Regions from separate parts of the Homo sapiens genome. Here all the other regions are linked to region 2. The links are contacts of gene promoters, found by promoter capture Hi-C in blood cells and fetal thymus (Javierre and others, 2016). All regions are on one chromosome and are shown on one strand. The core of a region is centred on a gene start or on the middle of the fragment in contact, and the rest is flanking DNA. Distances in the headings are between cores, read along the strand shown.

Evidence for each region. Contacts are between HindIII fragments. The CHiCAGO score rates a contact against its expected background, and 5 or more counts as called.
Region 1: a contact is called between a fragment that was not itself captured here and the fragment with the promoter of AK5 in region 2, in 1 of 17 cell types (monocytes). The highest score is 5.9, in monocytes.
Region 3: a contact is called between a fragment that was not itself captured here and the fragment with the promoter of AK5 in region 2, in 1 of 17 cell types (non-activated CD4 T cells). The highest score is 5.3, in non-activated CD4 T cells.
Region 4: a fragment that was not itself captured here is called in contact with the fragment with the promoter of AK5 in region 2 in 1 of 17 cell types (monocytes); the score reaches 5.2 in monocytes.

What each region holds. Positions count from the first base shown.
Region 1 is chr1:77,522,934-77,529,364 of GRCh38, forward strand. All of the region lies in intron 12 of AK5 (adenylate kinase 5), which reads left to right. Among named protein-coding and RNA genes, the nearest start is that of ZZZ3, 160 kb to the right of the region's middle. The HindIII fragment of the contact is 614 bases long and covers 1,921-2,534 here.
Region 2 is chr1:77,278,532-77,285,454 of GRCh38, forward strand. It overlaps AK5 (adenylate kinase 5), which reads left to right and starts at 3,488. Exons shown (of 14, transcript NM_174858.3): 1 at 3,488-3,842. The coding sequence starts at 3,783. RefSeq lists a silencer at 3,348-3,407. The HindIII fragment of the contact is 11,909 bases long and covers 1-6,923 here.
Region 3 is chr1:77,452,222-77,459,602 of GRCh38, forward strand. The region is part of intron 8 of AK5 (adenylate kinase 5); the gene reads left to right. Among named protein-coding and RNA genes, the nearest start is that of AK5, 170 kb to the left of the region's middle. The HindIII fragment of the contact is 941 bases long and covers 1,805-2,745 here.
Region 4 is chr1:77,475,258-77,482,499 of GRCh38, forward strand. The region is part of intron 8 of AK5 (adenylate kinase 5); the gene reads left to right. Among named protein-coding and RNA genes, the nearest start is that of AK5, 200 kb to the left of the region's middle. The HindIII fragment of the contact is 6,200 bases long and covers 1,466-7,242 here.

The sequences.
Region 1 (6,431 bases), core at 978-3,477, 240 kb after region 2:
CATGTTAAAGGTGATGAGTGAAGCCCAGAAAGGGTTAATGACTTCCCCATGGCCACACAGCTGGTGACAACTTACTGGTAAGTGCCAACTGCTAGCAGGACTAAGATTTTGCGGGACCCATCGCCATCCACTTCTAGTAACATTGATTGAGGTGAATTATACTTGTGTGTCTCTGGGGGTTTACTTTGACCTCCTTCTGAGCCTGTTTCATTTAATTTCCTTAGTGTCAAAATACTTCAAGGTCAATTGCTCATCTTCCCCTACACTTCCTACATGAAACCAGAGTCAAAGAAAACATGTCTAGGTCTAGTTGGCATGGGTGGACCCTGGACCCATTCTGGCTGTCCCTCGACTCCAGAGCTTCCATCAGCAAGATGGGGGTGGGCAGGGAGAAGTGGATTTGCAGAGCAGAGCCCCATTACTGTGGAAGTTTTAGGCAGTTCTTGATGGGGGACACTCACATGCCCAAGTTCTAATGAGCTTTTTCCCATGAAAAAAATCACTTCAAGAGCACAAACCTCAATATAAATTAACTAGTTTTTTACAAGATGGAATTGGGAGCGTTGTTCTACTTTTTAAATAATTGTGGTAAAATAGACATAACAAAATTTGTCATCTTAACCATTTTTAAGTGTACAGTTCAAGGATGTTAAGTACATTCATATTGTTATGAAACCATCACCACCATCTTGAGAACTCTTTTTATCTGCTAAACTGAAACTCTACCTACTATTTATTTTATTTATTTTTATTTTTGGAGACAAGGTTTTGCCCTGTTGCCCTGGCTGGAGTGCAGTGGTGCATTCATAGCTCACTGCATCCTCAACCTCAAGGCCCAAGCAATCCTCTCACCTCAGCCTCCTGAGCAACTGGGACTGCACCACCACACCCAGCTAAACTTTTTGATTTTTTGTAGAGATGGGGATCTCACTCTGTTACAAGGGCTGGACTTGAACTCCTGGGGTCAGGTGATCCTCTCACCTCAGCCTCCCAAAGTGCTGGGATTACAGGTGTGAGCCACCGCACCTGCCTGAAACTCTACCCTCTCCCTCCTTTCCCCAGCTCCTGACAACCACCATTTTTCTTCCTATCTCTGTGAATTTCACTATTCTAGGTACCTCTTATTTCACTTAACAAAATGTCCACAAGGTTCATTAATGTTGTAGCATGTGTCAGAATTTCCTTCCTTTTCTGGGTCAAATAACATTCCATTGTATGTATATGCCACATTATTTTTATTCATTCACCTATCGATAGAGACTGGGGTTGCTTTCACTTTCTGGCTATTGTGAATAATGTTGCCATGACTACATGTGTACAATATCTGTTCAAGTTCCTGCATTAGTTCTTTTGGGTATATACCCACAAGTGGAATTGCTAGATCATATGGTAATTCTATTTTTAATTTTTTGAGGAGCCACCATACTACACATATACATACATACTGCCAGCCATAGTGGCCACACCACTTTACATTCCTACCGACAATGCGTGAGAATTTCAATTTCTTCTCACCAACACTTGTTATTTTATGGGTTTTTTTGATAGTGGCCATCCTAATGGGTGTGAGGTGGTATCTTATTGTGGTTTTGATTTGCAGTTCTCTAATGATTAGTGACATTGAGCATCTTTTCATGTGCTTTAAATGAAGTTGTTTTCTTTTTGTTGTTGTCTAGTTGTAGGAGTTCTTTATATATTTTGGATAGTAACTCCTTATCAGATATATGACTTACAGATATTTTCTTTCATTTGATAGGCTGTCTTTTCACTCTTTTGGTTGTGTCCTTTGATGCACAAAAGCTTTTCATTTTGGTGTAGTCCAATTTATCTATTTTTACTTCTGTTGCCTGTGCTTTTTGTCCTGTACAAGAAGTTATTACCTAATCCCCATGAAGCCTTCCCTCCGTATTTTCTTCTAAAAGCTTTGTAGTTTTAGCGCTTATATATTTAGGTATTTTGATCCAGTTTGTTTGTTTGTTTCTTTGTTTGTTTGTGATGGAGTTTCAGTCTGTCGCCCAGGCTGGAGTACAGTGGTGAATCTTGGCTCACTGCAACCTCTACCTACCAGGTTCAAGCAATTCTCGTGCCTCAGCCTCCCAAGTAGCTGGGACTACAGGCACATGCCACCACGCCTGGCTAATTTTTTTGTACTTTTAGTAGAGACGGAGTTTCACCATGTTGCCCAGGCTTGTGTTGAACTCCTGGCCTCATGTGACCCGCCTGCCTTGGCCTCCCAAAGTGCTGGGATTACAGGCGTGAGCTACCATGCCCAGCCTTGATCCATTTTCAGCTAATTTTTTATATATGGTGTCAGATTATTTTGCATACGGATATCTAGTTTTCCCAATGCCATTTGTTGGAAGAATATTTTCTCCTACAGAATGATCTTGACATTTATGTTAGTCCGTTCGCATTGCTATGAGGAATACCTGAGGCTGGGTAATTTATAAAGAAAAGAGGTTATTTTGGCTCATGGTTCTGCAGCCTGTACAGGAAGCATGGCATTGACATCTGCTTCTGGTGAGGCCTCAGGAAGCTTCCACTCACAGCGGAAGGTGAGGGAGAAGCCAGTGCATCACATGTTGAGAGAGAGATGGCAGAGGCCCCTGACGCTTTTCTATAATCACATCTTCCATGAACTTAGAGAATGAGAACTCAGTCATTACCACGAGGATAGCACCAAGCTGTTCATGAGCAATCTGCCCCCATGACCCAAACACCTCCAACTGGCCCCACTTCCAACACTGGCGGTCACATTTCAACATGGGATTTGGAGGGAACAAATTCCAAACCATACTAGCATCCTCATGAAAAATCATTTGACCATATATATGTGAGAGTTTATTTTTGGACTGTCTATTCTATTGGTCTATATATCTGTCTTTATGCCTGTACCACATTCTTTTGATTACTGTAGCTTAGTAATAAGTTTTGAAATCAGGAAGTGTGAGACCTCCAGCTTTGTTGTTCTTTTTGGTGATTGTTTTGGCAATTGAGGGCCTCTTGAGATTCTATATGGTTTTAAAATGATGTTTCTATTCCTGGAAAAAAAAATTAGGATTTTGATAGGGATTACATTAAATCTGTAGATCACTTTGGGTAATATCGACATCTTAGCAATATTAAGCCTTCCATGGATTGTTTTAGATTTTGTTTATTCTAATCTTCTAGCCAACGTCTAGGCTGTGGATAAGTCCCTAGGGATACATTCTAAGTAACTGAGGAACAGGAGTATTTTTCTTACACCACCTTAGAATCAAGGCCTGTGCAGGGCTGGGGGGTTGGAGGGGAAAGGAAGAGGAAGGTGTGGTACAAACGTTGAGAAGCTTCCTGTCTATGAGGATTGGCAGTTGTGTAAACATGACACTAACATACAATTGTAGATGTGTAATAACTGCTGCAGGGTCAACAGTGTTTCAGGCTTTTCCCACTTACCTTGCCCTTGAACTTAAGGTTAGAAGAGCTCTGAGAGACCCTCCAGGAAAGTCAGGACAGGTCCTGCGCATGTTTGGAAGCGATGGGAATAAAAGTCTTTTTTTTTTTTTTTTTTTTTTTTTTTTGAGACGGAGTCTCGCTCTGTCGCCCAGGCTGGAGTGCCGTGGTGCGATCTTGGCTCACTGCAAGCTCTGCCTCCCGGGTTCACGCCATTCTCCTGCCTCAGCCTCCCAAGTAGCTGGGACTACAGGCGCCCGCCACCACACCTGGCTAATTTTTTGTATTTTTAGTAGAGATGGGGTTTCACCGTGTTAGCCAGGATGGTCTTGATCTCCTGACCTCGTGATCTGCCCTCTCAGCCTCCCAAAGTGCTGGGATTACAGGCTTGAGCCACCTCGCCTGGCCAAGTCTTTTTTTTTTTTTAATTGCTCTGAGAGGTGGTAGAACATTCTCTTGAAACCCTCAAATGATCGAGGACAAGATGTATAGTAAATAAATAAGGTCTCTCTCTCTCTCTCGGTCAACAACAACAAAATTAAATTATAATCCTTATTCTTCTTTGGGGAATTTTAAAATTGAGTCTGAAGGCAAACCCCAGAACTTAACGCCTATGGGGTTCCACATCATTTTGAGCAATGACAACCCTGGACCTTCCCAAGGTGGAATCATTAAAAGCATGTCACTCGTGTACTCTGGAGTCAGAAAATCTAGGTTTTCACCTGTCATTTATTATGGAGATAATAATACCTGTTAACACCTATTTAAAAGGTTTTGTAAACATCAGATCATATAACATGCATAAATGTCTTCTAAGCTATAAAAGTTTATAAAATATTATCTAGTTTAGCATCACTCATTTGTTAATCACACCTCATACAAGCCTCTAAAATTCCTGCTCCATCACCACTTCCTCCTTTGCTTAAAACCCAGTTAGGGTGAGCTCAGAGCTCTATGCAGCCCATTGGTCTGTCCTCTGGCGTAAGTATGAATTCAAATGGTCCATGTGATCTTCCCTAAAGTAAAGCAAAAAACTTCCTCTCCCACTGTGGTCCCCGTTCAGACCGGTTTTAGAATGTGGCAGAGAAGAAGCCTAACTAGAACTAAGGAACAAGAAAGTCATCAACATGGTGACTGGACAGTTACACTCAATGCTAAAATTCATGATTCCATTTCAAACAACACACAGGTAACACATTTCATTACTGAGCATACAACCGTTAAGTGAGATTTTAGACATCTACAAAGATGATTTCTTACATACTGCTAGGAGGAACTTACAGAGACCAAGAGTGACATTGATTTGTCCCTGGGTACAGTAACTTTAGAAGATTCTAGTATCAATTAAGCAGGTGTGCAAGAGAACACATCCAGCCCTCCAGAATGAGCTCCTGCTTTAAACCTGACCAGATGGCCGGGCACGGTGGCTCACGCCTGTAATCCCAGCACTTTGGGAGGCCGAGGCGGGCAGATCACCTGAGGTCAGGAGTTTGAGACAAGCCAGACTAACATGGCGAAACCCCGTCTCTACTAAAAATACAAAATTAGCGGGACGTGGTGGCACATGCCTGTAATCCCAGCTACTTGGGAGGCTGAGGCAGGAGAATCGCTTGAACCCAGGAGGCAGAGGTTGCAGTGAGCCAAGATCGCACCACTGCATTCCAGCCTGGGCAACAGAGTGAAACTCCATCTCAAATAATAATAATAATAATAAAACCTGACCAGATGAACAAAGATGCTACAAACACAGAATGAGCTACTGTTGACTCCTTAATGCCCTGCAGGGCCCTTCATTTGTAGCTCCCCTCCAAATTACAAGCAAGAAATTCATTTGAAATTTGACAAAGACAAATGCAGACATCTGATTTTCCCCAGAGATTCAAAGTAATCAGCTTGGTTGAAAGCATAGTATTTCCCCTAGTGCATCAGGCCTGCAACTATGTTTGAGGTCCATTCAAGCCTGGAGAGGTTTTAACCAGCCCACAAAAATCTCACCAGCCTTTCTGTGTCACCGAGATTGATGCGTCCGATGCATTGGACCATCAGTTCCTTTAAAAATTCAGTTAGTTAGGCTGACACTTTTGCATACCTGTAGCTGAGTTCTCCGAGATACAAGGTCCTTTGAGGATTTCCTTGGACACTGCATATGACATCGCTAAAAATCAAATGCAAACTAATGTCCACAGCTTAAGGGTAAGTCTATGTGTGGTTTCTGTTACCTTCCTATCTTCTATTCCCCAAGCTGGTTTTATCCCTGTTGAATTACAACCTATACCTTCAGTTTACAGAATGATTACTGGGGGAGGGGCTGTGTATATGTACATGTATGTAATGCATGTATGCATGTAGATGTGTGTAATGAGGCAGAAGGAATATGAGGGAGGAGTCAGGGTTTCTGATCACCATCCTCATTCCCCACTCCAGCTGAGAACCCCTGGTTATAGTGACTCTGGTGTGAACAGGCCTGTATTTGGAGCCTGGCTTTGTAATTCATTGGCTGGTAAGCAAGTCAGCTAACTTTGTAGATCTCCTTCTCCTCTTCTACAAAATGTTGGTTGGAAATACATACCTCAGTGATTGTTGGGAAGATTGGATGGGATCCTTGACAAGTGCCTTTACACACTTATAAGCCTACATATGGTGTTCAATAAGTCTTTACAGTTTTTTTAATAATGTGTATTTTTTCTGACTATAGAAATAAAAATTATATAGTATGAAACAATACACAAAAATATAAAACAAAGAATAACTAACCACCCAGTGATAATACCTATTAATATTTAATGTATGTTCTCCCCAAGCTTTGTTCTGCCTGTTTTTGCTTAGTTAAAATCATACAGAACATAGGAATAGTAATTATTTTTTGAGTACTTACAATGCGCCAGAAACTGAACTTGATGCTTTACACATTTCATTTGATTAATTTTTACAGTCCTACTTAACAGGTGTTAGGACCCCCGTTTTATAGGTTTTTTTTTTTTTTTTTGAGACGGAGTCTT
Region 2 (6,923 bases), core at 2,238-4,737:
TCACCTTCTCAATGAGGCCTTCCCTGACCACTCTGTATAAAACTGAAGCCAGCCTTCTAGTTCTCCTTACCCTCCTCTACTTTTCCTTTTCCCATGGTATTTATCACCATCTAACAACAATTTCATATACTTGTTTATTATATCTGTTGCAAATTATCTCCTGCTCCTAGATAAATGCTCCATGCATGTGTTTTATTCACCTACGCGCCTGACAGCACAGCAGTGCCAGCGATGCCTGGCACACAGGAGATGCACAAGAAATATCTGTTGACTGAATGAATTATCATAAAACACTATTTTCATTGTGACTCGTAAATCATGTATTTATACACCATTATATTTCTAGACATTACGAAGACATTGCTTGAGCTAGATTTTCTCAGCACCTAAACATACTCCTACATGGTAAATCAGGAATCTCTATATATGGCATTTACTCTTTCAAGCCATCATGGTGTAATTTTTAAAGACTTCAACATATTTGTTTTTTAAAATAGAAAGTTTACTTTTTCCTGCTAGGGTACCTTTCTAAATTTCTTTGGCTGAGTCCTAAGCATTCTATAGATACAGCTATAGATATTTTATTCCTCCATTCATCTGTACCTATCATGACTCAGGGAAACATTCCCACCAAGAGTCTGAAGGATGCCTAGCCCTTTGGAAGTCCTAGTCATCATCCCAATGGTTATTCCTTTTTCTTTTCTTTTTTTTTTTTTTTTTTTTTTTTTGGAGCGGAGTCTTGCTCTGTCGCACAGGCTGGAGTGCAGTGGCGCCATCTCGGCTCACTGCAAGCTCCGCCTCCCGGGTTCACGCCATTCTCCTGCCTCAGCCTCCCGAGTAGCTGGGACTACAGGTGCTCGCTACCACTCCCGGCTAATTTTTTGTATTTTTAGTAGAGACGGGTTTTCACCGTGTTAGCCAGAATGGTCTTGATCTCCTGACCTCGTGATCCTCCCTCCTCGGCCTCCCAAAGTGCTGAGATTACAGGCGTGAGCCACCGTGCCCGGCCCCTAATGGTTATTCTTACTCCCATTTCCTCAGCTGCTTCCACAGAACAGACCTGGAGCCTCTGCCCCCTTGTTTCAAATCAACAACTCTGATTTTCGTCATCAGTTATCACTAACTGATATGTTCTTGTTTATGTCCTTCTTTGTATTTTTTAATCACTATGTGATGTTGTCTATGCATTTTTATTTGCTTATTGTTCATCTGCACTTCTTACACACACTCTTCATAGAATTTAAGTTCCTTGACAGCAAGGATCATGTCTGTTATTCACTGCTATATCTCAGAACCTAGCACCCTCTCTCAAGACGTGATGACAAGAGAGTCTATCCGAAGACATCCGACATGCAGTAACCATTTTGATTCATTATAGCTTGCAGGAAAGCATTCCCAAATAAACAAAGGGCCAAGGGCCATGAGCCTTCTATATACCCACACATAGAATTTCATCACAGGGAATGAGAGGCCAGCTTTCCCACAGCAAGGATGTATTTAGTGTTCCTTGTCCTTTCTCTTTCCTCTCTTTTGAACCATTAGCTTGGCTTTTAAGCATTATATCTCTCTCATGTAGCCCCTCCCTACAAAGCCACAACTTCCTTTGCAAAAGTAATTATGAACATCTTCCTCTTTCACGCATCTCTCTCCACCCTGGCACACACCAAAATACACTAATTGTCTCTGCATAAGGCTACTTGAAAACTTGCCGTATCACCATTTACTACATTTTTCAGGCTATCTACAATTTTTAGTGCAGTGCAGTCTTTCTTATCCATTCTCTTTTTACAAGCAAGTTGCCAACACTTGTCCGGTAACACTAAAGTACACTTAGAATTATGCATTTCTTCAAGGGAAGACAGGTGAGCCATGCTCTGCCAGATTCTTGTCTGCAAAGGATGACCTTGAAAAGTCCTGGAGAAACTGGCCTTTTCATTCCTGCGTGTTCACCTCCACTGTGCCTGCTCACAAAGGAAGCCTTAATGCCACGGACCATTGTACTTTTCAAGCATCATTGCATAGGGAAGAGACACTGCCTTCACTACTGCCATAGCCAATCTTAAATAAGCTAAAGAAATACTAGAAGTTGGGACTGTAAGTGAAATGGCATATTCTAAGGGCAAAAACCAATTTCCATGGAACTGAAATACCTGCCTCGTTTAAGGCAACCATATGACACACGGGTTCACAAGTGCTAAAAGTTCATTTACTCCCTCAGGTAAAACAAAGCTGCAGCTGTAGTTAAGGCTTGAGCTGCAGTTGTTTCCGGAACAAGAAATAGAACCAAGAAAAGATCTGCAAAGAAGCACTTGAAATGGACATTCAGACTCTATAGTTTTTTAAAGCAGTGGCAGCGTTGCTTCTTTCTCCAGCCAGACCCCAGATACCAGTGCCTACCAAAGTGTCCTCTCTCACACACCCTCCTACAGTGTTAGGCTTTGTGGGAAGTTAGAGATCATATTCTCCGGGGGCAAGGACTATCTCCCAAATAGGCAATGTGAAGACATCTTAGCAGGGAATTGAGTCATCTTGGGAGCTAGGAGGAAGATGGGTTACACCTTAACAATGGTCTGCAGCAGGAAGATCCATTAACCATTATGCCTTAGCGCACCCACTCATACTCACTCATATTCCCCCAGGGGTGCTCTGATACGACACTGTCCACGGACTGCACACTCTTCAGGTCTAATTAATGATGCCCACCCTCCCCACCTACTAAACACATTTGCAATTTAAGCATCTCTAGCTCTCCACTACCACCCACCTTTCTCCTCCACTGTCCCTTCTTCTCCATGGAGATAATTAACTAGTTGACTACTTATTAGTCCTTCAGTTGATTAGGATTTCAGGCTCACACTAAGGCCTTATCCTAAAGTCTATAAAGATTTGTGACACCGACAGGGTAAAAATTCGAAACCAGCTAGCAAAACTTTCCTGAAGGATAGAGATACTCAAGATCTAAAAATTATCTGAAGGGTTGGATTCCACACCATGAATCCCCTTTTCCCCCTTCCCCACAGCTCCCTATAGTGAAAGATCCGTAACCTTAGGAATAAATGATAAATCCTGTGACTATTAGGTTTTTCCTGGGAGTTCCTCGGAGACCCGGAGGTAACCGTGTATGTGCGTGCGAGTGTGTCTGTGTGCGTACAAGGTCCGGAGAAGCGAAACGGTCGCAGGTTCCTACAGACCCCGACCCTGTTCCCTTGGCCACCTGGTCCCCGGTAGCTGCATCCCTGGGCGGCGCACGCAGTGAAGCGTCGCGCTCTGGCGCCGGTGCCGCACCGAGGGGTATGACTACGACCCCTTGCGCGTGCCCGCCCCCACCTCCGCACCTCGCGCCAGCCCGCGCAGCGTGACCGGCAGCCGCCGCAGACCCGGCTCGGGGAGGCGCGGAGCGCGGCGCGCTGAACCGGAGAGGCGGGCCGGCTGCTGCCTTGCGTTCGCCACGCTGTCCTCCCTCCTCCGCTCCCTGCGCCCCACCCCTGGCGGCCGCGCTGCCTGGCAGCCCGGGAAGCCGCGGCACAGCTGCTCGGCGCCTGCAGCTCCGGCTCGGGGGCTGGAACCGAAGCGGGGGCGGCGGGAGCGCGGAGACCACAGCCCCCGGGGAGAGGCGGAGGGGGTCCCTGGCCTGGGCGGAGAGGCTGAGCTGAGTGCGCGTGAGAAAGAGGGCTGCACCGCTGCTCGGCGCGGACTCTGCCAGCCCCAGCTTCAGCCCCGGCTCAGGTCGCCGCAGCCCGGGAGCCTCCCCGCTTGCGCCCCAAGGCACGCGCGGCACAGCCATGAACACCAACGATGCCAAGGAGTATCTGGCCCGGAGGGAAATCCCTCAGCTTTTTGAGGTAGGGCTAGAGCTGGCCGACGGGCGGTAGCATCCGGGGACTGCATCTCAGGGGTTCGGGTTGAGGCAGCCGCGCCCCGTCCCACCTTCCCCACACGGGGCATGTAATGAAGGGGCTTGTAGAAGCGCACTCGCCCGCTCCCCCGAGGGTAGTCGCCTTTCCCGCGGGTTGCCAGGGTCCTTGTCAGAAGGCTGGGCTTAGAAGCCTGCATCTCACAGATCAAGTTTCAGTCTTCCAGCAGGGTTCTGAAAGCAGCCTGCTCCCATCGCGCCCCTCGGATGTGGACACCCAGGGTGGGCTGCAGACCGCGGCCGGGCCGCACTCTCTGGGGGCGAGGGCCAGGTCAGGTGGCTGCACTGTCGCCCAGCAGCGAGTAAAGACTCGAAACTGAGGGAGCCAGAGCCCTAGTCACTCTGCTGGTCGAGGGTCGGAACCCCTGGGGGAAAGAGGAAATGTGGACGAAGGCAGCCCTTCCTGGAGACAGCTTGGAAGAGAGGGATGAAGATGCAAAAAGCAAAACCCAACCTATCAAGTGCCACCTCCCCGGTGACAGGCCCCCAGCCTTGCTCTGCGCTTTCGCTGAATGAACTCCTGAGCACGTTTTTCCCGTTGCCTAGGAAGGGTTGGGCCGCAGGTTTCGCCAGTGCTCGACAACCCACCTGGAGATAGCGGGTCGGGGAGGGAGCTGCGAGGGGGGCGGACTCCTGTTGCTCAGTCTTCAGACCGCAGCACAGCATCATCTGCACCGGGACCCGGGAATGGGGGGACACTTGGAGACTGAGAGAGAGGAGGCTCGAGGAATGAACCTTGGTCTGTTCTAAGCCACAACCCCTGTCTCAGGTCGTTTGGCTTCCTTTCCTTCTCTTTGTATTTGAATTTAAAAACATTCCTGAATCTCAAGTGCTTTTGCTTGAAGTAGGGGGGAGGAGGAGAAAAGAATAGAAGCAAGCCAGGCTTCCTAAGCGAGCTCTGAAAGGAGAAATCCATTCACTGCAAACCTCGTTCCCCATTTCTGAAAACGGATAGACTGATATCGTAAACTAAAGGTCATGAGGGTTTTTCCCCCCGGTTTGGGGGATTTGTTCTGTTAAAAGGAATTTTAAAGCACCACTTGAGAAAATAATTTTGCCTCAGTTTCCCTAAACTATCTTTAAAATGGGTTGCCATAATTACAGGTCTTCTTTTCTCTCACCTCTATAAGCCACCGTTTTCAGGTCATCTGAAGTCAAGATTTCCAGGTAAACCACTCACTGAACTCAAGCGTGGTATGTGAAGCCCAAATCTAGCAAATGTGTTACTCCTGCGTGAAAATAATTAGGTGGTGTTGCATAAGGACAGGTCTTGAGAATATGTGGGAATCTTAAGAGTTGTTTTTTTTGTTTGTTTTTATTTTCAAAAAGTAAATATGGAAATTAAGAGGCGAAGGTTTTTCTCACAAAGATTACTACTGAGATATATTTCATTTCTACGCTTCTAAAAGAATCATTAAAAACATCTGTAGGAGGACCACGTGATTGCAAAAATTCCTACATAGTACATCTTTTTTTCTTTGTAAATGTGGGTACTGTTTTTCCTCCTTGGTGGAAGGTAACCACAGAGAAGTTTGATAGTTTATTAAAATCTACACTGTGCATGCAAATAAGTTATGGCAGGCCTTTTTGTTAAGGTTTTATGTTTCTTATTTACTTTTCTGCATATGAATGGGATAAATAATGCACACCCAGAAAAGGAAGTCAACTTGCTTGGGTGAAATACAGTAATGGACTTAGATTCACTTGTGGACAATGAGAAGATGGAAGTAGACTGCTGGTGACCTCAAAGGCTACATCCTTCAGTAAGACGAATCTGTGCTATGCGCAGCTCAAGAGGGAAGGAAAATCTGGCAGTTCTCCATGTGATTAGTGTAGACTGTAAAACTAAAAACTTTAGGTTTTTAAAATGGATTTTGCCCACCACAATATTTTAGGTGTACAAAGTTTAACAATTAGCTGTCTACTAAACACCAAGACATTGGCCCCAGCTGTGGATTTTAGACGCTATTACAGACAAACTGACTGATTATTGTATTGACGTATTGTCAGACAAGTAAATATATCTAACTGACCTTTTCAGATTTTTTCCTAATTTGAGACATCATGTAAGCTAAATGGAATATGGGATATCTCTGGTACGTTCATGTTTGAAATGTGTTTCCAGTTTTAGACTTTTTTAAACCCACTTTCTTATTATTTTGTCATGAGTTCTTAATTCTGGCTAACCTTATGGTGTGTATATTGATCTTGTAGCTTACAGCAGAGATTTGGCAATCAATTTGAATACTGTGGAAAGTCAGATTATTCAAGGTCTCAAAGGGTTCACTCAGAGACTGAGCAATAATATGTGCTGGTTGTCTTCAATCCCTGATAGTGGCTGGCTATTAGAAGAAAAGATTTGAATTATCCGTGAAGGAATGGAGCTCATTGTCCCATTTTAAAATCAATGCCCTTTGGTGAACCAGTATTGTTTAAGGACGCTGGAAATGTATATTTTCAGAAAAGAGTCATTGAGAGTGTTCACCCATTTCAGGCAATAGTAGGGATAAAAAGAGGGCATTTTGCAGAGGGCACAGAGAATCTCATGTTTTCTTTTATCTCATATCACGTTTCTGCAACAGGTACAGAGAAGAACATATGGGTTTTGGAATTGGAAACATTGAATTGAAATCCTGGGCCTAGGAGTTTCTAGTTGAGTAAACTAGAGCCATCACTAATATCTCTGAGCCATGATTTCCTAATCTATAAAATGGGGATAATAAAGTCACACAGGGCTGAGAATGCACTGGGTATGCAAATAAATATATGACACAGAGGCTTTTATTTATTAATGAGGCTAATACTGGCTTGGCGTATGGGAAGAATGTGAGAAGCTCAACTGCAATGTGTGTGTATATGGGACAGATTTTGACAAACAAACTGAATTGGATGCCCGGGTAATTTTTTCTGCTCCCTCTGCAATTGAACTTGGCTGATGGAGGTGCACACTCTAGCTTACTCTATTTAGGATTTCAGAAAACAAATGTACCTAGTGAGAATTGCCTACCAT
Region 3 (7,381 bases), core at 1,025-3,524, 170 kb after region 2:
TATGTTGTTCTATATATGTATGTCTTACTTAATTTTAATGAATCGACATACTTCTGTATCAACACTTGTTCATGACTGGCATATCTTTAATTTTCAATAAATGCCTGTGGAATTATGAAGAAAAAAGGATAGCATTGCAATATTCTCCTTCTTTCTTATCAGATATACTTTAATAATAAATCAAGGATTATTGATTGGGCAAAGGACTCCAAAAAGGAAGATTTTTAGATAAGGCTGTTTATTTAAATGTTTGGAGTAAGAGCTGTCAGATTGGATCCAATTTAGTCCCACATGACTCATGATGCAGAGTATATTAAATGCTAAAATATCTGCAGTCTGTTGATCAATAAGGTAGTTCTCCAAAATGCCAGTCACCTATGCGGCCAGGCTAGATTAAACGGTGCCACAACAACATGCATTAGAGCCTCTCATGCTTTTCCATGGAACAAGTTCACTCCACATTCAGTCCTTCATTCAGCCAAGCATAGATAGAACAAACAAGTTTCACTGGGCCTGGCTGTCTGCTAGTGCTTCCATGAGCTTCTAGAAACAACAATATTATTCAAAACATCCAAGAGTTCTTGTAATTTCCAAGCACACATGCTTTCTTAAATACCTACAGCCAGAGTCCAGAACATATCCATTTATCTTCCTATGTTTCATTTGATCTCATTTTATCTGTGGAGGCAAATGTGTTTTTATTAAAAAGAAAAGAAATTTGTGGACACTAAACTAGGAAGCAAAATTAAATAGATTGTATAAAATATTTCATACAGACTAAAAGCTATAGAGAATGATATAACAAACATCATTTATCCACTGCCAAGCTTAAGAAATAAAACATTGCAAATAACTGAAAACCTCTGTGCATCCCCTCTTTAGTCACATTCCTCTGGCCTGTCCCCAGAGATGTCCCCGTTCTGAATTCAGTGTTTGTCAATCCCATATTTGTCTTTCTATTTCTGCTGCATGTGTAGGTATATCTGTAGAATGTGAGTTCCCAGAAAGCAAGTACTTTTCTCTGTTCACTGATACATCACCAGCACCTAGAGCAACACATGGCACATGGCAGGTTTTCAAAAAGTATTTATTGACTGTTGAATAAATAATGTATTTGTAATAATGTCAGGATTTTTTCATATTTTAACCCCTTATAAAGTGTTTCATATTGTATATATCCTTCTGCAACTTAATTTGTTTGTTCAATCTATGCTGATAATGTAACTTGGCTCCATTCATTTCACTGCAGTATAGTATTCCAATGTAAGATTAGAAGACTATTTATTTATCTGTTCCAATCATGGGCATCTAGGTTGTTTCCGATTTCTAATATTGTAAATTTGTTGCAGTGAATGTCCTGATACTGTTTTTTTGCTCCATTGTGTAAGAGTTTTTCTATAATAAACAGCAGGGGAGAAAGTGAGAAGGGACTGACTCTTGCCTCTACTATATTTCTTCCTCTTCCAAATCTCTAGGTGAATGGGAAGTTGGGAAATCAGCTCAGCCCTCTGGGCATCAGCTTCCTCACAAAGAAGATGAGGCCAGTTGGTCAGCCAATCTTTTAATGGGTTTATGTATCTTCGACTTTATTATTAGCAACAACGGTATAAGTAGTTAGGAAAGGACTAATTTCCTCCATGTAAACTTTCTGTATTTTTCTGAATCAGTTTCATTCCATAGCCCTATTCTTATTGGTAAAGGAACTTTCATTCTCAGTCATTGTACGGGGAGCCCCTTTTTCCTCTTCTCCAGGGTCTTAATAGGGTCTGGAAAGACTCACCTGGTCCAAAAAGTTTGAGGAAGAAGCTTCTAGTCTTCAGCTCTGTAGGGTCAACATGAGATGCTTATTGTTCAAGCCTGTGTGATCCACCCAAAAGTAGGCTGCTCTACTACGGCATCCATGCTGCTGTGACCGGATGGACCACAGGACAGTTGAGACCCCAGCTAGATATCTGCCAAACCCAGGACTGTCAGCAAGGGAATAGGGTTCAGGTCTTCTCCATTTATAAACTACCAACCCCTCTTTACTCTGGAATATTCTCACTCTCCTGGCTGGGATAGACAGTGTTGGCTCATTCCACTCCCCTCAAATCCTACTCCTAATTGTATGCCATCTTGGTCAGTATTACTCCATCCACCCCAGGAGCCCAGAGCCTAGCCATTCTCTCTCTCTCTCTTTCATGAACCAACAGCAGGAAAAGAAAAAGATATGGTTACTTTCTCATCACATATCTAGCTAGCTTTATTTCTAGATATTTTAATTATTTGTATTTTCATCTGCTTTATTTACTCTGAAAATGATTGCATTCTAACAAAATATATTTAAATTCTGTAGACCAGACCATAGCTATTTTGTTTAATTTATACTTTCCAAAGAGAATTAATAGATTTACCAAAATAGGAAATTAATGTTTATCACCAAAACAAATCATTATCAGGCAAAGTCAAGTTGAATATATAACACTTATACCCGCAGCTCTTCACAATGGAAAAGTTTTAACTGATTTCATCTCGCACACAAATAATTTGATGACATTAGTCTTACACATTTTCTTGAGTGGGTCTAAGTTGCCATTTAAATGGATATGTTCTCTCTCAAGTTTTTTTTTTTCTTTTGTGGAGTTTAGTTCATAAATTACAATCCTTATCAAGAGTTAAAACTTCAAGTGTCATCTTCTCTCTGGACAAAGATGTTGAGCAAGATAGTTAATCATGTTGCCTTTCCTTTTTTGCTCTATGATAAGAAGCTTTTTCCACTATCCAAGCAATGATGATTAACAGCTCACTTTTGCTGAGCACTCAATTTGGGTCAAGTATTAAACTGAGTGTTTCACATACTTCTTTATCCATACCAGAGCCCTATCTAGCGGGCATTAGTAAGCCCGTTTCATAGATGAGAAAACTGAGACTCTGAGTGTGAAATTACTTGGCCAAAAACATCTAGTATATCGCTAACGCAGGAATTGAACCAAATCTCCCTGACTTCAAAACTGCTGTAATCTGAATGATTGTTTTCCCCCACAATTCACCTGTTGAAACCTAATCACCAATATGACCGTGTTGGGAAGTAAGGCCTTTGGGAGGTGATTAGGTCGTGAGGGCAGAGCCATCATGAAGACATGAGTGCCTTATAAAAGAGGCCCCAGCTTGCCCCAGCAAGCTGCCTTGCCCATCCCACCATGAGAAGGAATTCCACCATGGCAGGCAATGTTTGCTGGAGAAAATGAAGAGGGGAAGCCCCTAAAACAGCAAGTAATTCCTCAATATAAGTTTTGAGATTTAATAGTGAGGGCACAGCCAGAAGGCATCATCTATGAACAAAAAAACAGGCCCTCACCAGACACTGAATCTGCCAGAGCCTTGAACTTCTACTTCCCAGCATCCAGAACGGTGAGCTATAAATTTCCATTGCTTGTAACTCACCTAGTCTATGATGTTTTATTATAGCAGCCCAAACAGATGAAGGCAAAAACTACTGCTCTGTACCCAATAGTCATTACCCTAGCTGCACATTAGAATCACCGGGTGAGCTGTAAAACCTCCCCACGTTCACGCCCCACCCCCAGAGATTCTGAGAATGAAGGCTGAGCAAAGTTAGGTTTTGAAATCTCCCCAGGTGATTGTAATGTGTGTCTGGCATGAGACCCACTGTAACTAGCTAGGAAGGCTGACAGCTGAAAGGGATCAAGTCTTCCAGAATAGAGCAGATCAAAAGCACCAGGAGTGGTGGTCTCCAAAATGTAAGAAAGTATGATTTTTAAAATTCATTTAAATGTGAAGGAAATGTGCTAATTCATGAAAGTAACCCATAAAATCAGAGAAGAGTACCTGAAGTGCCTAGGATTGTGCAGTTTCCATGCAGTTATTCAGCTCGGACTTTGTCCACTCTAAGGCAATGTCTGTTTGGAGAAAATGAACAGTGGAAGCCCCTAAAACAGCAAGTAATTCCTCAATACTAAGAGTGAGGTTTCATAGAATTTAGAGAACTGTAATGATAAGACTCTACTACCGCAGTTGTTTCCTCAGCTGATTGAGCCCTGTGGCAGATTTTATCTTTGTTTTTCCACCTGCTTAAGGACACTAGTTTCTGATCTCCCAGGAAACTGGGAGTAAACCCCAACCTGACTGCAGCTCTCACCTCAGCATGGAGAGGTTTCACTTGGCATCTGCCTGAATACAGATGTCTCCGAAGGTTAACAGCCTGTTCTGGTGTTACACCTTGCTAGAGAAGAGAGCCATCTTGACCTGGATACATTTCTCCATCTCCAAGCTTGGGCTGGGGCTCAGGGGGAGAGTAAGAAATGACTGGGCAGAGAGCATGTGCCAGGGAGCAAGAACAGCACCTTCGAAGGCACAGACTTAAAAGAACGAGGATGGGCCTCAGTTCCAAGTATGGAGACCAGCTGTCCCAGCTTACCTGGTAAAATGCCCCATCTTAGGAAACCTCTTCATCCTGAGAAAATGGGATGGTTGGTCACCCTAGTTCCAAAGAACCATGCAGAATGGGGAAGGAGTGACGTGCAGGGCATCACTGAAGCCTAAAGCCTGCTCTTCTCACCTGCCCCATGCAGCCTTTTCTGAAAACCAATTAACTCCTCTGTGTGGGCCTGGTTGAGCCTCATTCTAGTATCTGGGGTCTGTTGTCTTCCTCTCTATGCATCACTTCACTTTTCTGGAGCACATCCTGTAGTAGTTTCCTTAAAAAAAAAAAAAAAGTCAATGGGAGGTACATTTTCTAAAAGTCTTCCATTGCAAATGGCTTTATTCTTTCCTCATAATTTTCTGACAGTTTGCCTGGGTTTTTAATCCTTGTGTTCGCAAATCAGTTTTCCTCCAACATTTTGAGCCACTGTCTTCTGCCTTGCCATATTGTGGTCAGGCGTTGTTCTGATTTTCAGTCCCCTATCCTTGTGACCTGTGCCCTCCTCTCTCCTCACATTCCTGGAAGTTTTAAAGATCCTGTCTGTGTTCCTGGTGTTCTGAAGTATCCCACTGATGTACCTTGGTGCAGATCTTCTTTCATTCACTGGGCTGCACACCTGGTGTGATCTCTCAATGTGGAGACGCAGGTCCCTCGGGCTTGGGACATTTTACAGTTGGTTTTTATTCTTTGCTCATTTTCTACCCTCTGCTCTTTCTGTTCTTGCTTTTTAGAATTGGATATAAGGCTTTCAGAATTGATTCTCTCCTTCTCTACCTAAATTTTCTCTCATTTTCTACCTAAATTTTCTACTACCTTCTGCTTGCTGCAGACTTCCTTAACTTCACCTTCCATCTGTTCTATTGAGTTTATTTCAGCTATCATAGTTTTAATTTTCAAGAGCTCTTTCTTTCTTTAACTGTTCCTTTTTCAAACCATATGTTTTTAGTTTTGTGGGTGTAATATCTTCTTGTATCTTTCTGAGAATAATGTTTAAATTGCTTTCTAAATTTTCTTTGTCTGTTGCATTATTTTTGTTTCCTTTGGATTTTGTTTATTGGGACCTCTTTCCTTTATATTTAAAAGTTTTCTCCTAAGTTTTGAGATTCCTGGCTGCCCATTTGTATTCGTGTGTGCCTGGGGGCCACTGGAGTAGGAGGCTCAGCCAGTGGTGGGCTTTAGTCCAGCATATTTAGGCCGTCTATTAGCTTCCTATTTGCTATAACAAATTACCACAAACTTAGTGACTTAACACAAATTTATCATCTTATAGTTCTGGAGACTGGAAGTCCTAAAGTCAAGATGTCAACAGAAGCCAGGCATGGTGCCCAGCCCCTGTGGTCCCAGCTACTCAAGAGGCTGAGGCAAGAGGATCACTGGAGCCTAGGAGTTAGAGGCTGCAGTGAGATATGATTGTGCCACTTCACTCCAGCTTGAGAGGCAAGATGAGGCCCCATTTCTTAAAAAAAAAAAAAAAAAAAGGGCAAAACAAAACAAATGTCAGGGGTGGTTCCTTCTGGAGGCTCTAGGGGAAAATCCATTTCCTTGCCCTTTTCAGCTTCTAGAGGCTACACACTCCCTACTTTATGGCTCCTTCTGTCATCTTTAAGGCCAGCCTTTTCAAATCTCTCACTCCTCTATTGTCCCCTCTCTTCCTTGCTTTCTCGCACTGCTTCTTTCATTATGTCTCCTCTCTGACAGTGACCCTCCTGTGCACCAAACCTGAGTAGTCAGTATCATCTCCCCATCTTAAGATCCTTAACTCAATCACCTCTGCAAATTCCCTTTTGTAATGTAAAGTGTATTCGTCCATTTTCATGCTGCTGATAAAGACATACCTGAGACTGATCAATTTACAAAGGAAAGAGGTTTAATGGAGAACTCACAGCTCCACATTACTGGGGAAACTTCACAATCATGACGGAAGGCAAGGAGGAGCAAGTCACGTCTTATGTGGATGGCAGCAGGCAAAGAGAGAGCTTGTGCAGAGAAACTCCTGTTTTTAAAACCATCAGATCTTGTGAGACTCATTCACTATCAGGAGAACAGCATGGGAAGACCCACCCCCAGGATTCAATTATCTCCCACCAGGTCCCACCATATGGGAATTATGGGAGCTACAAGATGAGATTTGAGTGGGGACACAGAGACAAACCACATCATAAAGTAACATATTCACAGCTTCTGGGGATTAATACATGAACTTCTCTGGGAAGGGGAGTGGCATTATTTAGCTTACCACAGGCAGGGACCAGTCATTCCTAGTAGACCTCCAAAGCCAGAAGAGAGAGAATTTGCTGTCTTTTTCTAAACAGGGAACTTCTGGTGTCTTGCCCAGGGAGCAGGATCCTGGCTGTTGGTTCCTCACTGCACAGGGAGTTGGTGGTCTGGTTGCCACATAAGCACATTTTAATCTCATTTTCAGCCTCTGGATTCCCTCAGAGGTCCTGGGACCTGGGGCCTTTGTCTTCCACATGTATCCTATGTGGAAAATGTCCACATCACACTTCCACACTTTTCTCCGAAGGACTCAGACATCTTATTTTTAAATAGATCTAAATTTATTGCTGTCTTCCTTAAAACCCTTTTAATGGCTTCTCACTGCCCTTAAGATGAATTTCAAACTCCTTACATGGATTATACTTTTCCAAATGGTTAGGCCCTTGCTCACCTCTCCAGCCTGTAACAGTTTTCCAAGCATTCTTTACGTCCCCTGCTGCAGCCAGTTTTGGGGTTTGTCTTTGCCAATTTATTTCTCTGTGTGCCCCACCACCACCACTACCCCAGTAGACTGGAAGATCCACAAAGGCAGAAACCACTGTCTTCACTCATCTGCTTAACCCAGTGGTTCTCAAGCTTTAAGGAGCATGAGAATCATCTAGAACACTGATTAGAACACAGTCTGCTGGGCCCCATCCCTACAGTTTCTGATTCAATAGGTCTGAGGTAGCCTAAGAATTT
Region 4 (7,242 bases), core at 3,316-5,815, 200 kb after region 2:
AGATATAGAGAGAAATATATATATTACTCAGGGAGGTGGGGAGGTAGAAGGGGCAGAATGTAAACAAGCTCAGGGCAAATGTATATATATACATATATATTATATATATACAAATATATATTATATATATGTATATATATAATATATATGTATATATATACTATATATTATATATATGTATATATATTATATATATACAAATATATATTATATATGTATATATATTATATATATACAAATATATATTATATATATATGTATATATATTATATATATACAAATATATATTATATATATATATGTATTACTCTCTCTGTATATCTATATATGGATCCTGTATATATGTATGGCACCTAATAAAAGTTAAGAGACAAGCCAGTGTGCTCTGTAATTCCCAGTGACTGAAGCTCAGCTTTGCCATTTTATTTCTGTTTTACAAGGAATTAGAAAACAAAGAGGTAAAGGTCAAATAATTCCTTGGCAAGACTAGTCAGATGTGACTTTATGGCCAACATTAACTTTACATGAAATTAAAATGGGAACTTTGCCCCTTCCTTTAAACCACCAGCCTGACAAAGCTCTTCTTAACAATGGTGCTACATTTGGCATCTGAAGACAAGATCAAAGTGTTTCATAATCTTCTAGCAGAGAGTTGAGTTGAACACGTATTTGAGATGATGAAAAAAGGAACTTAGAGAAAAACAGTGAGAAAATTTTTTTCTTTAAAATTTCTTATTAGAGACACTAATATTGCAATTTATATGTAAGAGAAGAAAAATACCATTTCTCCTAGAGAACTAGGTCTGTTAAAGCAGTTTATATAGAGAAACTGCAATTTAATACAACTGGAAAAAGTTAGCCTAGCATCTACCACATTTTTTTCAACTCTGTTTACTCAGTTATACAAGTACTTTACAGCAAGCAGACCTCTAATTGTGTAGTTCAGTGAATGAGAAATGGGACTTGCTGCGGAATAAATTCTGGGGTGTAACTAAATTACACACCATTTCCCATACTTTTTTTCTTTCAAATTGCCCATTACTTTAAATGAAAACATGGTTTAGAAAAGAACTGTAACCACTCAAAATTTCTGAAGGACCAGTCTCCCTTCTCCCTGGTGATAAAATGTACTTATGTTTGTATTTTTCAACATTCTCCTGCTGAAGTTCCAAGGGATTTCAAAACTTCATTCACAGTTTTCCAGTAAAACCTGTAAAATTCATTTTCAGATCATTGGTTTAGCATGATCCAGCTTCAGCTCCACTTTTAGCAAATGAATCCATCTTCGTTTCTATTCATATGACACCAGGAGCATTTCTAACGATGCCCCTCCCTGCTCACCATACTCCGTCATCCTGCACTTATGTATCATCTCACGCCAGCCGGGTCAGCCGGAGGAAGGCAGAACATGGGCTTGGGGAATTGGGAAGCCCGACCCACCAGGGCATCCTGCACAAGTTGCATAAGCTTTCTGAGCTTCAGTTTCCTCATCTGAAAAATGGGAAACATCAAACTTGCCTACTTCCTAGTTTTTTTCTGAGATCAGATGAGATTGCACATGCTGAAAACACTCTAAGTACTACTGAAATAATAGTTCCAGTAATCATTTTCTAAAATTGTTTAATGTGTGAGGTGTTTTGCTGTTTTTTTAAAAAAAAAAAACAGGTATAAGGAAAGTGCAAAAAAATTCATTTTCAGGTAAAAAGATGAGGAAATAGCCTGATCTATTTTTGATTGTTCTTTTTAGTGTGTGTGTGTGTGTGTGTGTGTGTGCGTGTGTGTGTTTCTGAGACAGGGTCTCACTCTGTCATCCAGGCTAGAGTGTACTGATGCAGTCATGGCTTACTGCAGCCTCAACCTCCTAGGCCCAAGCCGTCCTCCAGCCTTAGCCTCCTGAGTAGCTGGGACCACAGGTGCACACCACCATGCCCAGCTAATTTTTTAAATTTTTTGTAGAGCAGGGTCTCACTATGTTGCCCAGGCTAGTCTCAAACTCCTGGGCTCAAATGATCCTCCCTCCTTGGCCTTCCAAAGTGCTGGGATTATAGACATGAGCCACCACATCTGGCCTGGTTGTTCTTTTTAAATTATTATTCCATCCTATTAAGATTCTGCCCCTCAATGAAGTGAACCCTTCCAAGAACTTACACGATATTTTTTTGCTCCACCTCTATCCCCACCACTCTGCTATTACTTCCTGTAACCAGAGAGAAGTCACTAGACCAATTTAAATAGAAATCTAGGAAAATCCTCATATGCTAGCATTTCATGGTTCATGATTCTTCCAGAATTTGAGTTATTCTGTTTAGTACTCATTGAGGTAAGAAAAAATTAGAAAAGACTGCTCCTTACATTATCTTAGAGACTAAGGAATCACTTTTAAATCCTTTTTTCTTTTTTCTTTTTTTTTGCATTTTGAAGTTATCTATGTTCAGTGTCAGAAAAACAAAGTCTCCTTTTTTTGCAGCATTCATTTGTGAATTTTAGAGCAAGAAATTAATCTTAGCTGTAACATTTTAATGTCAAGTAAGCCCCTTTCTCATAACCCCATTTGAAGTTACACATTTTGCTACCATGAAACACACATGCTGGTTAATACAAACAAGTTACTCTGAACTGGGAATACACCCCCAAAATGACCTATTACTTCTTTCTCCTTCTCAGGAGAACTTTAATTTTGTGGCCTCCAAAAGCATTTTTAAAAACCAAAACGGTTTAAGGAAGGACGGTGGGCATATCTGAATACATGATTGTCATCTCCAAGAGCAGTAAGAGGATGCTGCTGAGGAAGCAGAGGTTAGTGTCAGAGAGCTGACTTCAAAGTTCAGCTCACCTCTTGTGCCATGGGAAGCCCAGGCACATCCCCATCCTGTGCTCCCTCAGAATCTCAACTACAAGTTCCTCATCCATGAGGTTGCAGTGAGGGTCCAGTGAGATCATATCTGCAAACAGGCTTGCAAGCTGAATTATTTAAATGTCAGCTTCTTATGATGAGGTGATCTGTGATATGGTTTGGCTCTGTGTCCCCACCCAAATCTCATCTTGTAGCTCCCATAATTCCCACATGTTGTGGGAGGGATCTGGTGGGAAATGATTGAATCATGGGGGCGGGTCTTTCCTATGCTGTTCTCATGATAGTGAATGGGTCTCAGGAGATCTGATGGTTTTAAAAATTGGAGTTCTCTACACAAGCTCTCCTTGCCTGCTGCCATCCACATAAGATGTGACTTGCTCCTCCTTCTCTTCCGCCATAATTGTGAGGGTTCTTCAGCCACGTGGGACCATGAGTTCTCCATTAAACCTCTTTCCTTTGGAAATTGCCCAATCTCAGGTATGTCTTTATCAGCTGTATGAAAACAAACTAACACAATCTACTGTGGCAATGCCACAGAAATTGGTTCTGTCACCAGGAGCAGTCACTATGCTGTAATCAAACCCAGTTGAAGAAGATAGTTTCTTAAAATTGGTGAACCCATCTGTGAGACTAAGTTGTTCTATTTTGATCTCCCTCATTTAAAATTCAATAATTCAAGGAAATGGAAATGACTAGACATGAATATCTTAAGGTGGTGATGATAGGCACCCTGATCCTAAAGGAAAGCACATATATACCCCAATTAGCCACTCTTCATACAAATGATAGTACCAGAACCCAGCCTTGCAAAAGTAGTTTTTTTTTTTTTTGCATATACACCTACACAGGGAAATAAGGTTGAATGTGGGTTCCTTTTGCCCTCCTAATGGGTCTTGATTGACTGGAAGATGAGGGATAGAGACCAAAGCAAGTCTCTAATCCAAATCTGCAGTTTTCCATAGCCAGTAATCCCACTTTGAAATTTTAAATGTGTCCCTTCAATAGAATTCTAGATTTCTCCTCATCAATTACCAACATATTACCCAATCTATAGCATCAAAATGAGGTAGCAACCTGAAATTGTCTTTTTTTTTTTTTTTTTTTTTTTTTGAGGCGGAATTTCGCTCTTGTTGCCCAGGCTGGAGTGCAGTGGCATGATCTCAGCTCACTGCAACCTCCGCCTCCCAGGTTTCAAGGGAGTCTCCTGCCTAAACTTCCTGAGTACCTAGGATTACAGGCATGCGCCACTATGCCCGGCTAATTTTTGTATTTTTAGTAGAGACGGAGTTTCTCCATGTTGATCAGACTGGTCTCAAACTCCCAACTTCAGGTGATCCGTCTGCCTTGGCCTCCCAAAGTGCTGGGATTACAGGCGTGAGCCACCGTACCCGGCCTGAAATTGTCTTTTGGTGTTAGTGGGTTTGCTGCAGCTTCTCCCACCTTAACAGTATTAATCACAGCATTGCAGGCTGTGCCTTGGCGCCCCATACATGTGAGTCTTAAAGGTCACTTAAATCAAATGTGTGACTATATTTATACTCTCTCTCTCTCTCTTTGTCAGTTCAGAAGATTTAGTATCCCACTTCATGTACCTCAAAACCTAGTTTAATACTATGGAAAGTCACCTATGTCCCGTTGTGCACACAAAGCCTAACTCCATAATTCAGACTTAAGGTGACAAAGGGTGGACTAGATGGAGCCTCAACACAGAAAAAGGCCAGAACACAAAGAGGCACCCACAGACACTCAGAGTGGTGGCTAATGGGTTGAGTCTTCTCAAGTGATGCCTCATTGAAGAGGAAGCTCCAAGGCGACTGAGCATAAACACCTGATCAGACGTCTCCTGAATAAGCCTACAGCCTTTGGTTCCTTGTCCAAGTGACATTCTGAAATTAATGCCTTTCATGCAGAACACACCCAACATTTGAAAAGTAACAAGATTTAGTGCTTACAGGGGCTGTTTGGTATCTTTTTCACCAAAACCAGAAGTGTTTCCCATTCACCCCGAGTGTGTGTGTGTGTGTGTGTGTGTGTGTGTGTGTGTGTAAGATGCCAGATTAATTTTGTTTACAAAATATTCACATTGGAACCATGAGGTTTATTGAGAGTCCCTGGTTACACCCTCCAATCAAACATCTCATTCACCTGGGCTTTCATGTCAGTGCACCGCATTCCTGGTGAGAGTTGATGACAGTTGCATCTATGTCCCAGCAGCCTGTTCACTATTGATGAATTAATGAAAATAAAGCTGGGGCTCATGTGAAACATTTGAGCAAGTGTAATAGAAGGCTGTGAATAATAGCTGTGGATACAAATAGGTCAGACTCAGGAAGCCTGGCAGAGGTCAGATGGGCCCTTTTACAGTGGGATGCACTGTTTCAGGAATTCACATTAACCACGATCAGACTCCCCAAACATGATAGCCATGTAGAAGAAAGATCTAATACAGCCTAGCCTATAAGGTGGGTATAAGTCTGATAATCTAACAATAATATTAAAAATTGAGGGAGAGGACTCCATGGTTTCCTCTCAACATTACCTAGATAGATTCAATAGCTGTTTGACAAACAATAAGAAGATTTAGATTAAACAATCCTTTTCCAGGAAATACTCTTGAGCCTGTTCTATGCAGCTGCACCTTAGGCAAACTTATTAATTGCTTCAAATAGGTCCCTGTCTTAAATCCAAAATTCCCTGAGAATTTGGGAACTCCTCAAGGTCCCTGTCTTGAGCAGTAATTGATATTTTTCCCCTAGAAGCAGAGCCTGAGACAAGAATTCTCATGCAAGTGCATTATTAGGGAGCCCTCTGAGGAGAAGCAGGATAGGGCAGGGGTAAGAGCTAAGCAAAGATGTGGTCCTGGCTCCATCCTAACTTCAGCCTGAGACCATGGTGAGCTCTGGGGCTCAGCTTGCACCATGGATTCATCCCAGCTTGAGGCAGGGAGCCAGACTGTAGTGGGCCCTTAGCAGCAGTTCGGTGGCTGGGTGCCTGGCCAGGTGAGCAGAGGAGAGGGGATGCCCCTACACTGATGAGACCAAATGCATAGCAGCCATGCAAAGTGGTAAAAGAAGTGGTTCTCATCCCATCCTGACGTCACTAAGGACATGACGGCATGGCCATGGGCCCTTCGCATGACCTCTCTGAACATCAGTTTCCTCATCTGTAAAATGGAAGAGTGGGTGGCAGGATTGGATTAGGTGATCCCTAAACTCCAAGCTCTGAATTGCGGTAATTTCAACAAGGGAAGTGGTGGAGAGGCTTGTTGAGGAATAATTGATGTTTTTTCTATTCACAGAAGAGAATTCATTAATGTAAATGTGTCCCTGAATGACCACTCTGTTAATAGCTCTTCTCTTACCTGGAATAGCACTGAATGCACAGGCAACTCTAAGAAGATGAGCAGTAAAATTTCCCTGAAGGCATATATTCTAAACAGGACAGCAAGAATCTGTCTTTAAATAAAGTGTTTTGAGGGCGGTTTACCTCAAGGGAGTGTTAATACAACCAGACAACCTCATTTAACTGACTCAGGCATCAAAGTGAATTAGAGGCAAGAGGCCAGCATAAAGCACAAGCCAGAGGCTGTCCCTTCAAAATGGTACAACCTCTGTGGGGAGCAGTTTGGCAAAATTCGATCAAAATTATAAATACATTTACTCTTTGACCATGCAGTCCCCTCTCTCGAAATTTAGCCTGCAGTATGAAATGATATTTATGCCAATTTACTCACTGTGCCACTTTTTCCAAAAAAAGTTTGAGACTGGAAACTACTCACTGATCCATCAATAAAGGACTAATTAAACAACAACAATTATGGTACCACATATACAATAGAATGCTGTGCAACTGATGATATTTGGTACTGAGAACATTCTGTACTTATATGGAAATTTCTCCAGGATACATTGATCAGAGAAAAAGCAAGTGGAGGAGCAATGTATTATAGAATAGTATTATATCGTAAACACATATGCATGTATAATAAAAGTATAATGCTTTTGTATAAGAAGTGGAGATCATAATATCTATTTATGTTCACATGTATCCCTGGATATCTAGAAGTCATTTTTGTTTGCCTCAAGAAAAATCTGTATAAGTGGTTACCTATGAGGGGTGACAGAGTGGAGAAATGATACAGGTGAAGACATAGGTGAGAGTGAGAGTTCTCACCTAGTGCCTTTTTATAAAATGTTTTTCTGAATTTTTTTCCAACCACCATGGGCTACTCCATAAGGAATAGAGCATCTGTTTGATTAAATTATTTTTTAATGAAAACTTTAAGGTAGGAATCAATAAAAACTGATCACCCCTACTTCCTTTATTTCATGCTTTGGTTCGGGGATTGGCAAATTATGGCTAAATAGTTGCCCTGTAGGGGCCGGGCA